3 separate regions of the Homo sapiens genome follow, and all the other regions are linked to region 3. The links are contacts of gene promoters, found by promoter capture Hi-C in blood cells and fetal thymus (Javierre and others, 2016). All regions are on one chromosome and are shown on one strand. The core of a region is centred on a gene start or on the middle of the fragment in contact, and the rest is flanking DNA. Distances in the headings are between cores, read along the strand shown. Region 1 has its middle 67 kb from the start of MIR9899. Region 2 has its middle 50 kb from the start of MIR9899. Region 3 holds the start of LYPD6B (LY6/PLAUR domain containing 6B).

Evidence for each region. The method cuts DNA at HindIII sites, captures the fragments that hold promoters and counts their contacts. A CHiCAGO score of 5 or more calls a contact.
Region 1: a contact is called between a fragment that was not itself captured here and the fragment with the promoter of LYPD6B in region 3, in 1 of 17 cell types (M1 macrophages). The highest score is 5.1, in M1 macrophages.
Region 2: a fragment that was not itself captured here is called in contact with the fragment with the promoter of LYPD6B in region 3 in 1 of 17 cell types (M0 macrophages); the score reaches 5.2 in M0 macrophages.

What each region holds. Positions count from the first base shown.
Region 1 is chr2:149,261,077-149,265,859 of GRCh38, forward strand. No RefSeq gene overlaps it. Among named protein-coding and RNA genes, the nearest start is that of MIR9899, 67 kb to the right of the region's middle. The HindIII fragment of the contact is 1,590 bases long and covers 1,045-2,634 here.
Region 2 is chr2:149,278,135-149,282,862 of GRCh38, forward strand. No RefSeq gene overlaps it. Among named protein-coding and RNA genes, the nearest start is that of MIR9899, 50 kb to the right of the region's middle. The HindIII fragment of the contact is 918 bases long and covers 851-1,768 here.
Region 3 is chr2:149,035,791-149,040,076 of GRCh38, forward strand. LYPD6B (LY6/PLAUR domain containing 6B) reads left to right here and starts at 2,909. Exons shown (of 7, transcript NM_177964.5): 1 at 2,909-3,011. RefSeq lists enhancers at 1,979-2,038, 3,252-3,301, 3,342-3,401 and silencers at 2,662-3,001, 3,012-3,171. The HindIII fragment of the contact is 3,848 bases long and covers 2,204-4,286 here.

The sequences.
Region 1 (4,783 bases), core at 590-3,089, 220 kb after region 3:
GAAGTTATCACTTTTTTTACTTGATGCCCCAAATTTACTTTAAGAGTTTAATTGCTAGTTTTGCTAAGATATTTTATCCTTTCTCTGAGAAGCACCTGGGTTATTTATTTCCTTACTGCTTCCTTTTTCTTCAATGAAATATTTTTTCCCTAGTCAAGTAGTTCTGTTTTCTGTCCATGCTGTGATAATGGGAGAGAAATCTTGAACTATGTTCTTTTGAACAGAAGTGACTTTCTTCTGGGATGTGAGCTACAATTGGCCTTTTCCCTGCAGCATGGGAGCACAAGCCTTAGGACAGCTTTCTCTGGGCGTTCAACATCCTTTCTGGTGAATCCTGGCAGCAGCAGCAACAGCAGTAGTTTGGGGATATTTCCCACCCACTATTGAGTGGGTTATATTAGCACCAATAAAAAGGAAATTCCAAGAGCACAGTTGGATCACATTGCACCATTTCTTTGTTATTTACTTGACGGCCTTCTCTCTTAATCCTATTGGCCAATCTTCATGAACATTTGCCCAGCCTTCCCTTAGAGAATGAGCTGTTTGAAAACTCACCTTGTTCTGTTCTTCTGGAAGGGGATTTTTGGGAAGATAAAAATGAGGGACACTAAACTACAAACTTAGCCTCTCTACAAACTGAGCCTGACACCTGCCTCATGCACTGTTCTTTCTGGCAGGAAATTGAGAAGGCTGTGGTAGCCCGAAAACGGTGAGACACTGAGAGACACTGGGAGACCTCACTGTGGAAATGCCTCTGACTGTGTTTAGCTGTGCAGGTCACAGATTAGCAGGTTGCAGTGGTTTCTAGGAGGCCTGGGCTTTCTGCAGAGGAGGCCCTGCTGAGAGAACAGCTGAAGTTTGCCCCCAAGATCAGAGAGCAAGCTTGTTTAGGTTAAGGCTTCAAAGTACCAGCTTTTATTACATTTTAATGATCAGAGTCATATTTTATTCATAGGGCTCAAGCTGAGCACCCCGGAGTTAGTAAAGCACAAGGTTTCTATTTCATACTCAGGCCAGTCTACGAAAAAGTTTGAAATAGAAGGAAGCTTGGGGATTTGGCCTCATTATTTAAAAATGAACATAAAGGATTTGCTGAACACTGACAATAAAATATCCAGGATAACAGACTTATTATGTAGCTTTCCATGGTTTATGTTGAAGACGTAAATAAGTCACATCTTGTTTGCTAGAGAACTAACCTTTCATTAACTTGTATTTCCACACCTTCACAATACACCTCTAGCAGAAATGCAACTCTTGCTGGAATTCCTCTCCAAGTATGAAAATTTGAGAACATTCTCTGTGTTTTACTTTTGCTTTCTGAAAAAAAAAAAGAAAAGTAAAAAAGAGAAGCATTGGATTGTGCTCCATTTTTACACATAATATGGAGAAGATTGAGTGAGGTTCTAATACATTTTGTAGGAGAGAATGAAGAAGAATTTAATTTCCTTTTTACCCTGCTGCTAGATGCGAGTAATGATACAGGGTGATTAACTTTTATGTTGCTGGAGCATTTTCACATGAAAGTCATTTTCAAAGAAACAGCAAGTAAGCCTGGTAATTGAGAGAGAGTTTAAAGCACTTTCAAAGTGACCTCTGTGTTTTGGGGGATATTAGGATGACACCAATGGTGGGTGAGACTCAGAGGTATAATTGAAATCAGTTGTGAAAGATTTATCTGTAAATCCACCTTCAACCCTCTGACCAAAAGATAAAGCCCTAATTGTGGCCAATGTTGACTTTTCTCTTTTTCACTTTTTGCAGCTGTATTTGGAGATAAAAGGACACTTCTAGAAGAAACTTCGGGTTAATCATGATAACAGTTGTTCAACATCAATTCAGCATCGTCAGTTTTCCATGATCTGCCTTAATTCAGGGTCATATTCCTGCATATTTGGCAGATTCCCTACAATTATGGAATGAATATATAAATGAGTAAAGAGAAGGGAACATGAGCAAAATACTTCCTAATAGCAGATAATCCAAAAGCCATTTTTCTTGGACGTTGCAAAACATTATACGGCTTTCTTTTTTCTGGTGTAGATTTACTTCCTTAATTACATTTTGTTTGGGTTAATACTAAAGTTCATGTTTTTATTTTTGCACTTTCACACTAATTTTGTGAATTTACAAATGTACAGGGTGCTGAATAGCAAGAAAACATCAAGAGTAGACTAAAAATGTCCCAGTAATAATTCTTAAGGGGGTAATCCAGTTAATTTTTCTAAATGACAACAATATGTTATTTATGTATTTTACCATCCCTGGTCCCCCTAAAAATTGGGACTTCAACAGTAAGAGCTATTTCATATGCATATTATCAATATTTTGCCTGAAAAAAAGGTACATTTAATGTACATGTTTTTAAACTGTTTTTTGTAGATTTCTTGAGTCTTGAAACACTGTAGTTTTGGAGATTCATCTGTTTAGATGACAATAGGTCCCACTCTTAAGTTTCAGGTTTCTTAAAAAGTATTTTTTATGGGTACATAGTAGGTATATATATATTTTGGGAGTAGGTAGATATTTTGATACAGGCATACGATGTGTAATAATCACATCAGGGTAAATGAGGTATTCATCACACAAGCATTCATCATTTCTTTGTGTTATGGACATTCCAGCTGAATTTCAAGCTTCAGTTTTCTTATTTGTGAAATGGAAATACTAAGGAGGTTGTTGCGAGGATTAAAGGAGGTAATCTACACAAGATATTTAGACAGTTGTGGCCTCACTATAAATGGTCAACACTATTGGGTATTTTTCATTATTACTATTGCTATGTGCTCTGCATTGTAAATTAGCATCAACTTCTGCTTTCTTATAAAACTGTTAGTGGCTGGGATATCTTCATCAATGCTAAGCACACAGGCTAATGGTTCACAAACATTTCACCACTAAAGAGCTCTCCATATCTCATAACACAATAAATGAACTCTTTTTATTAATTTTGAAACATTAATCAAAGATGTTTAACTGCTAATTGGAGCTTCTGACTGATGTGACATAGTCAGTGTTACAACAGATTGATATAATTCCTGCTATTTGGCAAACTAATACATACTTTCTTTTAGGCTTTAAACACTTCAACTTATAGATCAAAGACCTAATTATTACATGCTGTAGATACAACCATATTTAAAGACCCTGATTTTTCTGTTCTTTTGCATTTCTCTAGGGCGTAACATTGGACTGAAAAGGGTATATAGCAATAAATAGTTCAACAACTTTAACAGATGGGGACACTGAGGCCCAAAATGGTCATGTGGTTAGAGGCAGAGTCGAGACTAGGATAAGATCTCCTGATCCCAGGTACTACACTTTTCCCAAGATGCCACATAAATCTCCACATAAAGGCAACCTAAATCATCCTGTGATATCTTAGCATGTTTTTTATTCAGAAGGTAGAGAATTAAGGTTCTTTGCCCGTAACAAGGATAATAGCCAATAGTTGAGTAGTTCCTATGTTATCAGTTAATACGCTAAGTGCTTTATAAACATGATCTCATTAAATGTTCATAGGAAATTTAGAAGGTAGTTAATAATAGTATCCCTATATTACAGTTAAGGTAAGGCTCAGGGAGAATAGGAGCTCAGATTGCAAATTGGGAGCCTGGATTCAAAATGAGGTAGCCATGACTCTAGAATAGTGTAGGCCCTGCTGTTTGACCACTCCACTGAACTGCCTCCACATCCTTATCTGTGCAGCAACGACATGGAAGACAATGTTTGGTGTCTATAGCTGTTTGTCTTAGTGAGTTTGGGCTGCTATAACAAATTATCATAGACTGGGTGACTTAAACTGCAGATATTTATTTCTCATCATTCTGGAGGCTGGGAGTCTGAAACCAGGGCGCCAGCATGGCCAGGTTCTGGTGAGGGCTTGCTTTTTGGATTGCAAATCGCCATCTTCTTGTGTCCTTACAGAGTGGAAAGAAGACCAGAGAGATCTCTGGCATCCCTTTTAAAAGGATGCAAATTCCATCATGAAGGCTCCATCCTCATGACTTAATTACCTCCCAAGGCCCTTACTCCTAATACCATAACATAGGGGGTTATGATTTCAACATAAAAATGGTATATAAATACATTCAGTCCATAGCACTGTTTATTTCAAGGAACTTAGGCCAATTGCATAAATGAGGACAAAGCCATGGATTCCAGGCTGTAAACACCAAGGAACTTTTATCTACTCCATGTTCATGGTCTGCATTCTTAGCTTAAGCTACTTGTCTTATAAGTGTAGTCTTGGGTTAATGGAAACCCAGTGAAAATACTGCTTCATCAATAAAAATCTTTCTCTACTTCTGTACTTTTAACTGGCAAATTTAACCATTCAGGGGCCAAGAAGGGGGCTAGGAAGACTATAACATTACCTAGATAGTAGTCATAAATCCCATGTCCACGTGCCTCTTTATTTAGGAGAGTCTCTCTAATACCCACTCTTGGCAGACATATTTCCTTCATGCATTGCCTTTGCGTGTTCTTTGTCCATTTTTCATTTGGATGATTTTTATATCGAATTTTTAAGCATACTAAACTCGTTAATCCTTAGGCTGCCATAAACGTATAGCTATTTTTCTGTTTATTGCCTTATAATTTTATTCATCCTAAACAGATAAAATTGTTACATTTTTATGTTATAAATCAATTATCTTTTTCTTTATTTCTGCTTGAGTATGATAGAAAGTACACCTCCATCCCAATAATATATTAATAGTCACCTATATTGTTCTATTATTTTTATGGTGTCTTTTTTGGTACATTTAAAACTTTAATCAAC
Region 2 (4,728 bases), core at 60-2,559, 240 kb after region 3:
AACCATCACTGTGTGCACTTAAAAGGGAGCAATGAAAATCACCCCACAAACTCCAGGAGATGCGGTTGTGGTTTAATGGCTTGTTTATGATGTTACACGGTCAGTCACGTTGACTCTGCCCACAGTTATCGTCATTATACAGAGAAACTCAGCAAATGAATTCTTCTCAGTGGAGAAACAAACTCTTTTGCCAAATGGGGTAGTAGTTTATCTGTCATCGAGTTGCTGAAACCAATCATTATTTTTAGGACTGCTGAAATTATTTAGGAATTCCTTGTTCCTGGGTAGACAGACCTGAAACTTTCAGCTGACCTTCACCACTTCTACTATTAGGACCGTAAATCTCCCCTGAAGGCAGACAGCACTTGGGTAATTTCAGAGAGGGCAAAGGAACAGAATTATAGGTTGTCTGGGAAGGGTTGAAAGATTAGACCTCTGGAGAAAAAAATAAAATGAATCACGTTGAAGAGTAACTATTTCTTAGGGTCAAAGTTTAAATGTCTGTAATCAGTGTTTTAGTTTCACTTGCTGCTAAGATAATTAATGCTCTCAGGTCTTGGATTAATTGAAAATAAAGCATTACATTTAGAACAGATAATATTTATTTCAAAAAACAAAGAGAACACTCATTAAAAAAAAACCCTGCCTATGAGTCATTAAAAACATGAAGACACAAATGATCTAACTTTACTTTTCTGAAATGAGTAATTTTCCTTTTCTTTAATTAATTATAAAATCACACAATAGATTTCTTTAAAACAAGAATGGTAAACTAATATTAGGGTAGCTCCTCAACTTCTTTTTTTTAAATGCCTCTTTCTGCATGTAGCTTAATTTGTATTCTGTCTAAAGCTTTCATTTAAAGAGCCACAGAAGATTTTGGAAGAAATTATAGGCTTCTGATCCTACTGTCTAGGAAGGTAGTTGTAGGCCCTGTGCTTAAGGCAACTTTGAAGGAATGTATGTCATGTGTGATCTTGTGTACACATGACTTAATCAACTGAATGGTGTGTTAAAATTGCTTTTGTACTCAGCAGCAAGTATGCCAGCATTGCATGTTTAACAATTCACTTAAATATTAAATATTTCTGATTTAAAAAAAATTAACACAATGTGCAATAATTGGGGAGAAAGCATATAAAATATTTTGTTATATCAGAAATTCTTGTTATAGACAGATGTTTCTGTAGTCTGCCTACAATATGGGTATTTGAATCCTAGTTTTCTCTTTTCATCTGATTCAGTTATACTGGGAAGAAGATAGCGTGAACATTAGGGCTTGGGAATGGGAAAATTTTAAAATTCAAATCTTCCAGATATCACATCAAGAATTCTGTAAGTACTTGAAAGCAGTTTGATATTGCACATAAAAAAAGTATAAAGTGGAAATGAAGTAGAAATCCATGACAAAGGAAGACACCGGTGAATCAGAGAGAGATGCAAAAACATGATTATTTTCAGGTGCTTGCTGAGAGTCAGTTTCACTGAAGAACAGTGGGCGTCTTCGTGGCTGGCTCATCCCAATCACTTCTATTGACAAGCAGGCTCTATTGCACCTGGGAGAGGTGGCTCTATCTGTTTCTCTGATAGAGAAATAGTTCTTCAACTGGCAAGTAATTCTTTAACTTTGACTCAGTTTCCTCATTATTCAACTTCTCAGAGCAATTGCGCCTTCAAATGTCATGTGGGAAATTGCAGTGAAAATAAAATCTCTCGTTCTTACTATTGGTCTCTAAAGTGCTGTTAATCACTCCTTCTAAGCCAGGAAAGCTTAGGGAATGGTGGCCTTGATCAGAATCAAGTTAGCTGCTCCTGTAACAACGCTGGTTTTTTTTTTTTTGTTGTTGTTGTTGTTTGTTTGTTTGTTTTTGAGATGGAATCTCCTGCTATCATCCAGACAGGAATGCAGTGGCATGATCTTGGCTTACTGCAACCTCCGCCTCCCGGGTTCAAGAGATTCTCCTACCTCAGCCTCCAGAATAGCTGTGATTACAGGCACGTGCCACCACGCCTGGCTAATTTTTGATATTTTTAGTAGAGACGGGGTTTCACTATGTTGGCCAGGCTGGTCTTGAACTCCTGACCTCAGGTAATCAGCCCGCCTCGGCCTCCCAAATGTGCTGGGATTATAGGCGTGAGCCACCGCACGCAGCCCAACCTTGGGTTCTAACGAGATCTTTCAGGACCCTAAGAAGGGCCCTGACATCTAGTGTATCACCACCAAGACCAGGTAGATCAGAAGCAATTATGTGGATAAAGCTAAAACACAACCCAAAACAACAAACAAAAACAAAAACACACTACATTCCAAACAAAAAACAAAAACAAAAACCTTCATTTCTGCTAATTTTATCAGCTATCTTGAAAGAAACAATCTTTTTTCCATTATTGTTATATCACTTGGGTTCTTTGCCTTGCTTATGTTCACATTTTTCTTAAAAATGAGCTCTCTGGCATCTTAATTTTAAGGACTAGTGGCCAAAGTAGAAGTTTTGGGAGGCCCCAGAGCAGAGCTATTTCCTTGTGTGAAGACCCACCTCCGGGGAAAGACTGCCCACACAGTGACCCAAACCCAGCCATAATGAAATAGCCAGATGTCTGCAATGATCTCAGCCCATCCACAGGTTTAAATTGTTGCTTGAATGTGTTCGGGTTTGGTTGGCTGGGCTCGTCATGTGTTTCTTGTTCTACTCTAACTCTTACTTCATCTTGTTATTATAATAATCTTCCAAAGAGCATTGTACTTCCAAGAATCTAGGTTAGATCTCTGGCTCTGAGTGACTTGATCAACACGCAAGTTATGTTTGTTTGAAAATTGCAGAGTTAAGCTCTCTATGCTTGTTAGAGCTAATTGTACATGGATACTTTTTTTTTTCTTTTTTTTTGAGACAGAGTCTTGCTCTGTTGCCCAGGCTGGAGTGCAGTGGCACGATCTCGGCTCACTGCAACCTCTGCCTCCTGGGTTCAAGCTCCCACCTCAGCCTCCCGATGGCTGGGACTACAGGTGCCACACCACCGTGCCCAGCTAATTTTTGTATTTTTCAGTAGAGACAGGGTTTCACCATGTTGGCCAGACTGGTCTCGAACTCCTGACCTCAGGTGATCCGCCCACCTCGGCCTCCAAAGTGCTGGGATTACAGGCATGAGCCACTGTGCCCGGCCCATGGATACTTTTTGTGTGTGGTGCCTGAAGCCCCATGCTAGGCATGGGATGATATTTAAATCTTTTGATAGCATGATTACTGAAGATTTAAAAGTGATTAGAAAGACTGCCCATGACCATCAGTTCATCGACAACACTGAAGGAAGCTTGCTTTCTTAAAGGCATAGAACCGTGTGGCAAGAACTCGCAACTACTGATGTTTAGAGATCTGCTGGAATGGGTAAACTGTCTCCCTTCCCAGAGCGGTGGATAATGTCATTTGTCTGCCTGTGGGTCTTTAATTATGGAGAGGCTGCTCAGTGCACCCCAATGGCCTTACTGCCTGCTCTTTCCAATTAATTTTGAAGTTATAACCCAAGTCAAGGGCTATTTCAGTGTGACCCTGAGGTTACTTTAGTTTCCCATTTGTATTTAAGTAAATAACTGTGATCAGTAATTTCCCTCTGGAACTGTTAGAGTATGGCAATTACATGAAATTTGCTTGGCTGTTGCATGCATGCCTAGAGTTAGAAGTAAGTGCATAAGGCACTTGGAATGATAATTTTTAAGATACGCATGAGCCCCTCAATAGTTCTGTGTTCTCTCTCTGGCTCATCAACAGTCCCATTGTCACTTTTAACTGCATAGACTCAAGAAGATACTGTACATGGAGTGTATATTCTTTTAACCCACAGAGAAGAAATGGTTTCTATTTTCTCCCACTTAGTTGAAACCATATATTTTCTCTGTGTACAAAAGCTAACACTTGGGCAATATTTTCTTGCTTGACTTTTTTTTTCTTTGCTGAAACAATATATTGATATTTCTAAAGTAAACTATGTTGTAGTTGGCTAGGAGACAGGCTGAATTTTGGAAATGAATTAAATAAAGTGTTATGTCTGAGTAACCACTTAGAAAAGTATTCACATTCTCAACAGCTCTTAAGGAAAGGCAATACATAATCAATAATGATGTACCGTTTGGTTCTTCTGAAAACCAAACCCTCCGTGTAGGGAATGCACTGATTTCTGAGAAATCAATGGACATTAATTTTATAGAACCACAAGTCAAATTTATAACAAGTGGAGAGAAATAAAAATCTTGACACATCAACTTCCTAGAAATAGGATAAATGTTTGATTATGCAGTCTGTTTTGTTATACCATAGAAATTCTAGAAGGTCCTGTGTTCTAGAATACAAATAGTGCTACAGAGTTTCATGACGACTAAATGATACACTGATGTTATAAGGTCTAACAAGTTAAGAAATGATAAAATACGACAAAGTAGATAAAATAGGCAATAAAGTAGAAAGGTTCAAAATTTGCTAATAAAAAAGCTGTCAAATTTTCACTATGCAACTTAATCACTATTAGACATTGACAAGTCCCTTAATATTCCTGAACTTCAGTTTTTTCATTTATAAAATAGAGATCCCAATACTTTACTCCAGTCACAAGGTTACTGGGAGGATGAATAAAATATTCATGATAGTGTATTATAAATCATAATATGCAATGCAAATGCTTATATATTCTAACAACATTTAATATGTGGCAAAGGTTCTTTAAGGATTGTAACCTTTG
Region 3 (4,286 bases), core at 1,659-4,158:
TCTTTAATCTGGTGTCTGAGGAGTTTTCTCTGCGACTCGTCCTGCTACACTACTATGTGCCAGGAATGCTACACACATTGTCTCATTGAAAAATGTCCTCAGAAAATGATATACAGTATTTTTTATTTTATTTTATTTTTTTTGAGATGGAGTTTCACTGTTGTGGTCCAGGCTGGAGTGCAATGGCAGGATCTCGGCTCACTGCAACCTCTGCCTCCTGGGTTCAAGCAATTCTCCTGCCTCAGCCTCCCAAGTAACTGGGATTACAGGTGCCCGTCACCACGCCCGGCTAGATATACATTATTAATATACATGTTGAGTCCTAAGTAAAGACAGGAAAAATTAGGAAGGTAAATATATCCTAAGGCTCAGAAGTTTTTTGGATTGTTGCTTCTTTGGATAATTTATATTTCATTATATTATCAGAGAACTAGAGATAGAGCAGAAACTGAAGATTTTCTAGTTCAAATATCATTCTCCTAGAGACCAGTAGAGAATAGCAATAAATAGTTATTTGTAAAGATTAATTAATTCATTCTAGAGTCTTATGAAGTCTATCAGTGGTTTTGTCCCTATTTCCAGCATTTTAATGTTGATCAGAAGTGGGCTGGCTCTCTTTGCACTGCTAGGCAGAGCTACTGTTCACTGAGCAGGTGCTTTGTGCTGGCGCTGTGCTCAAGCACTTTACGTGGATTATTTAACTTAGCCACACAACAGTATCAGAACTTCTTATTTCAGATACCCCTTTTAAGCAAAAAACTTCAAACAGAGATCTTGTCTGATTTCATGGCTGCACATTTTCCAAGTAGGAAAAACACACAATTGAGGAACATGCCCAAGGCTGCTCAGCAAGCACAGGAGAGAGAGTGGGGTGGGGAGGGAGAGATCACGTGCAAGCAAGCAAGCACTGGGGCAGAACCTGTACCCTCCTGATGATTCTCAGGCCTGTCTGGGTGGCATCACTTAGCAGGCTGGCCCAGCCAAGATCACACGCACAGCAGCAGGATTTTAAATCACAGGGGATCACATGCTCTACTGACTGAAACCAACACAAAAAAAGGTCTAGGTCCATTTCATGTGAGTGAGACCCAGAGGTGCTCCTTTGCTCAGCCCTACCTGCTGGTGCAAGTGGCTGTCCCAAAGTGCAGGCCCCACCACAGCTCCACCCTGGGACACCAGATTCCCTGCCACCATAGAGGGAGTAGCAACTGAGGTAGGGCACACCTAGGTGGGGCATCCCATATAACCTTTTCTAGGTTGGCCTTGCCCAGTGTGACGTAGCCAGCCAGGTAACACCAGATCTGAAATACCCATATGTGCAGAACCCACTGAAGGGGTGGGGTGTCTAGACCTTAAGAGTGTTGGGCTTGTTGTCAGTGGAGGGGTGGAGCAGTCTTCTTGGCCCTGACCTCACCTTAATAGAGATCCTCCCATTTTGGCCTTGGAGGTTTAATATATAGTCACGGAAGTGTACTGAAATAGTCATAAGAAGGAATGTTCTCCATACAACTTTAAAGTTGTACAGTGCTTTCTGCAGTGAAATGAATTTTTTCACGGAATGGATTTTTTTAACGAGTCTTGAAATTAACATGTGAGGAGCAGCATGACACATTACCTCGTGTGTGTGTGTGTGTGTGTGTGTGTGTGTGTGTGTGTGTGTGAGTGAAGGCCATTTGTTAAATGGAACACCTAAAAATACCATTGTTTTTGTTTTTGCGGTTGTCAGGGGCCTCAATAAATGCAAGCTGGCTCAGGAGATGCTTGACCTCAGAGGTCTGGAAAGACAGATTAGAAGTCTCAGCAGAGGACCAAACCCAGACCCCACTTCTGCAGAAGTTCTGTACCCAGGTTTCCCCACTGCAGGCATAACCAGCAGCCCCTCAAAGGCCCCAGACCAGCCAACTGTCTTTAGAAATGCAGACCCAGGATCAGCTTTGCTACCAGCCATGGAATCTTGGGTCAGTGGCCCATACTCTGAGCTGTGTTTCCACAGTGCAAGGCTGGCCGGACAGTGTTTTATTTCAGAGTTCTCCTGTCTGTGGCATCTTCAGAAGTTAAAGATTTGCTTGACCACTATAAGGTGCCCTGGGAGTGTAGACCTCCCACATCCCAGCTGCCTGGCTGGCAGTGGGTGGGGAGTAAGCAGTAGAGAGAGGACAGGTGGCCCGGAATCTAACAGCTTGCCTCTGGATTCTCCCTAGTAAGCTTGGAATGATGCTGGAGCAGCTCTGGGCCGAGGGGACCAGTCTAACGCTGGACGCAAAAGACTGGGCGCCACCTAGTCTGTTCATCAGGTATTAAATGCCCTGAGTTTTCAAAGCTCTGGTGATTCAGTAGTGGACGGGTAAGGTTCCTGCCTCTCCTGGGGCTTACCGTCCAGGGGTGGGGAGGACGTCACTATATGAAATTATCTTATTTATAGCTTAATGTCATTATTTAAAAAGGGGGAGGGAATCACTTGACGGGTGGGCAAGGTGGGGACGGGGTTGGATGGAATGGTCAAAAAAGGTCTTTCAGAGTTCTTCCAATCCTGAACTAACTCACCTGCACCCTTGGCCCAATCATTTTCACTCCCGAGGGTCTGCACTCCTCGTTTCTACATTGGTTTTCTAGGAAGAAAGGGGTTGGACCCTCCCCTCTTTAAGCTGGGTGGGGTCCGAATCCCGTGCTTCTTTCACTTCCTGAGCCGGGCTGGCTGGGTGGGAACAGGCTCCTTGCCGCCTCCCCAGCGCTGGCCACTACCACACTGCCGCCCGCCTGGGCCTCCTTTCAACCTCGTGGTGGAGCCCTGCGGTTTCCCAGCGGAGCCGGGCCCGGGGCTGCTCCCTCGCGGGCGAGGCTCACCTGTCCCGGCCCGGCCCCCTCCCGCGCCCCAGGTGGTTCAGGGCAGGGAGGAGCCGCGCCCCGCCCCGCGCGGTAGCAGCCAACGCCGGCCCCAGGCGGGTGCGCTGGGAGCCTGGGCCGGGAGCCGGGTGAGGGCGCCGAGAGGCTCGGTGGGCGCGGGCGGCGAGGTGAGCTGGGCCAGCGCAGCAGGCGGGGGCGGTGGTGGGTTCGGGACGGCTCACCCCGCGCCGGAGCGAGTGCGGGGCCGCGCGACTGCGGCGGGAGATGCGCTGCGCCCCTTCTGGGCGCGCTGGGGCAGCCAGGAGCTCGCGGGGCCGCGGGGCCGCGGGGCCGCGGGGCCGCGGCGCAGTGGCGGGGTCGGGGTCTGGTCGCTGCCTCGAGGCGAGCAGCTGCCAACATCTGGACGGGACGGGAGCAGGGGGCCGGGGCAAGGCTGGAGCGGTGTGGGTCTCTAATCGTCCAGAGCCCTGCGGGGCCAGTGACTTCGGCAGAGCCGAGGGGAGAGGAGATACTGGGGGTCAAACTGCTGGAGAGAGCGCGGAGCTGGGGCTGGGGTTCAAGGCCGATCGTGGGGCCAAGAGCGAGCGTGCCAGCTCCAGTGTTTCCCCCTGCAGCGCTTCACGCGCGACCAGCTTGGGTGCCGCCGCTTCCCTTGCCCCGGCTCTTTACTTTTGTTGTTGAATAACCTACCTTACACATTGGTTAGTTACCTGGGGCTTCTCAAAAGCCGGGTCTGGAGGCTGCTCTGACTCCAGGGGGCTTGGGTTGTGAGGCTTCAGGTCTGTATGCCCTGTGGCGTTTGGGGGGAGCTGGTGGGTGGAGGGGTGCTGTCCACCTCCCAAGGCCAGGGGATCAGAGAGTGGGAAAAGTCTAGAATGCTATTTAAATTCCAGTAACTAGCTGTGTGACCTTGGGCAAGTTACTGAACTGCTCTGAGCCTCAGTTCCCTTAAAGTAAAATAGGTATTATTAATATTATAATCATTACAACAGACTTAGGTTATATGATGTTCATGGAGTACATAGCATACTGCTTGATTTTTCCCCCTTTGTGTTGATGTGGTGATGTGTGTGTTGTGGGGTGGGGGCATTCTTTCCCACCCTGACTTGTTCATGGTTAGGCTTCCTCCAGGATGCCTTACTTGCTGACAGCATCACAGAGGCCAAGATTAGGGCTGCCAGTGCACGGGCCCTGCAGATGGAGGGGGTGTTGTCAGACTGCCCTCATCATTACCCATCGTATTTGTCAGAATTGTTTTCTTTGGGTTGGGTTTTGGTCACTTGAAAATTGCCTTATACTATGTAGAAATTGATTGGGTCACATAAATGAAAAGGTCGAGGGTTTCAGTTTAAAGCTATAGCTAGTTCCAGAGGCTCATACAAGGTTCCAGGGCTAGTTCTCTCTCTTGTATATCTTAGCTGTTTTTCTCTCTGTGTTTACTG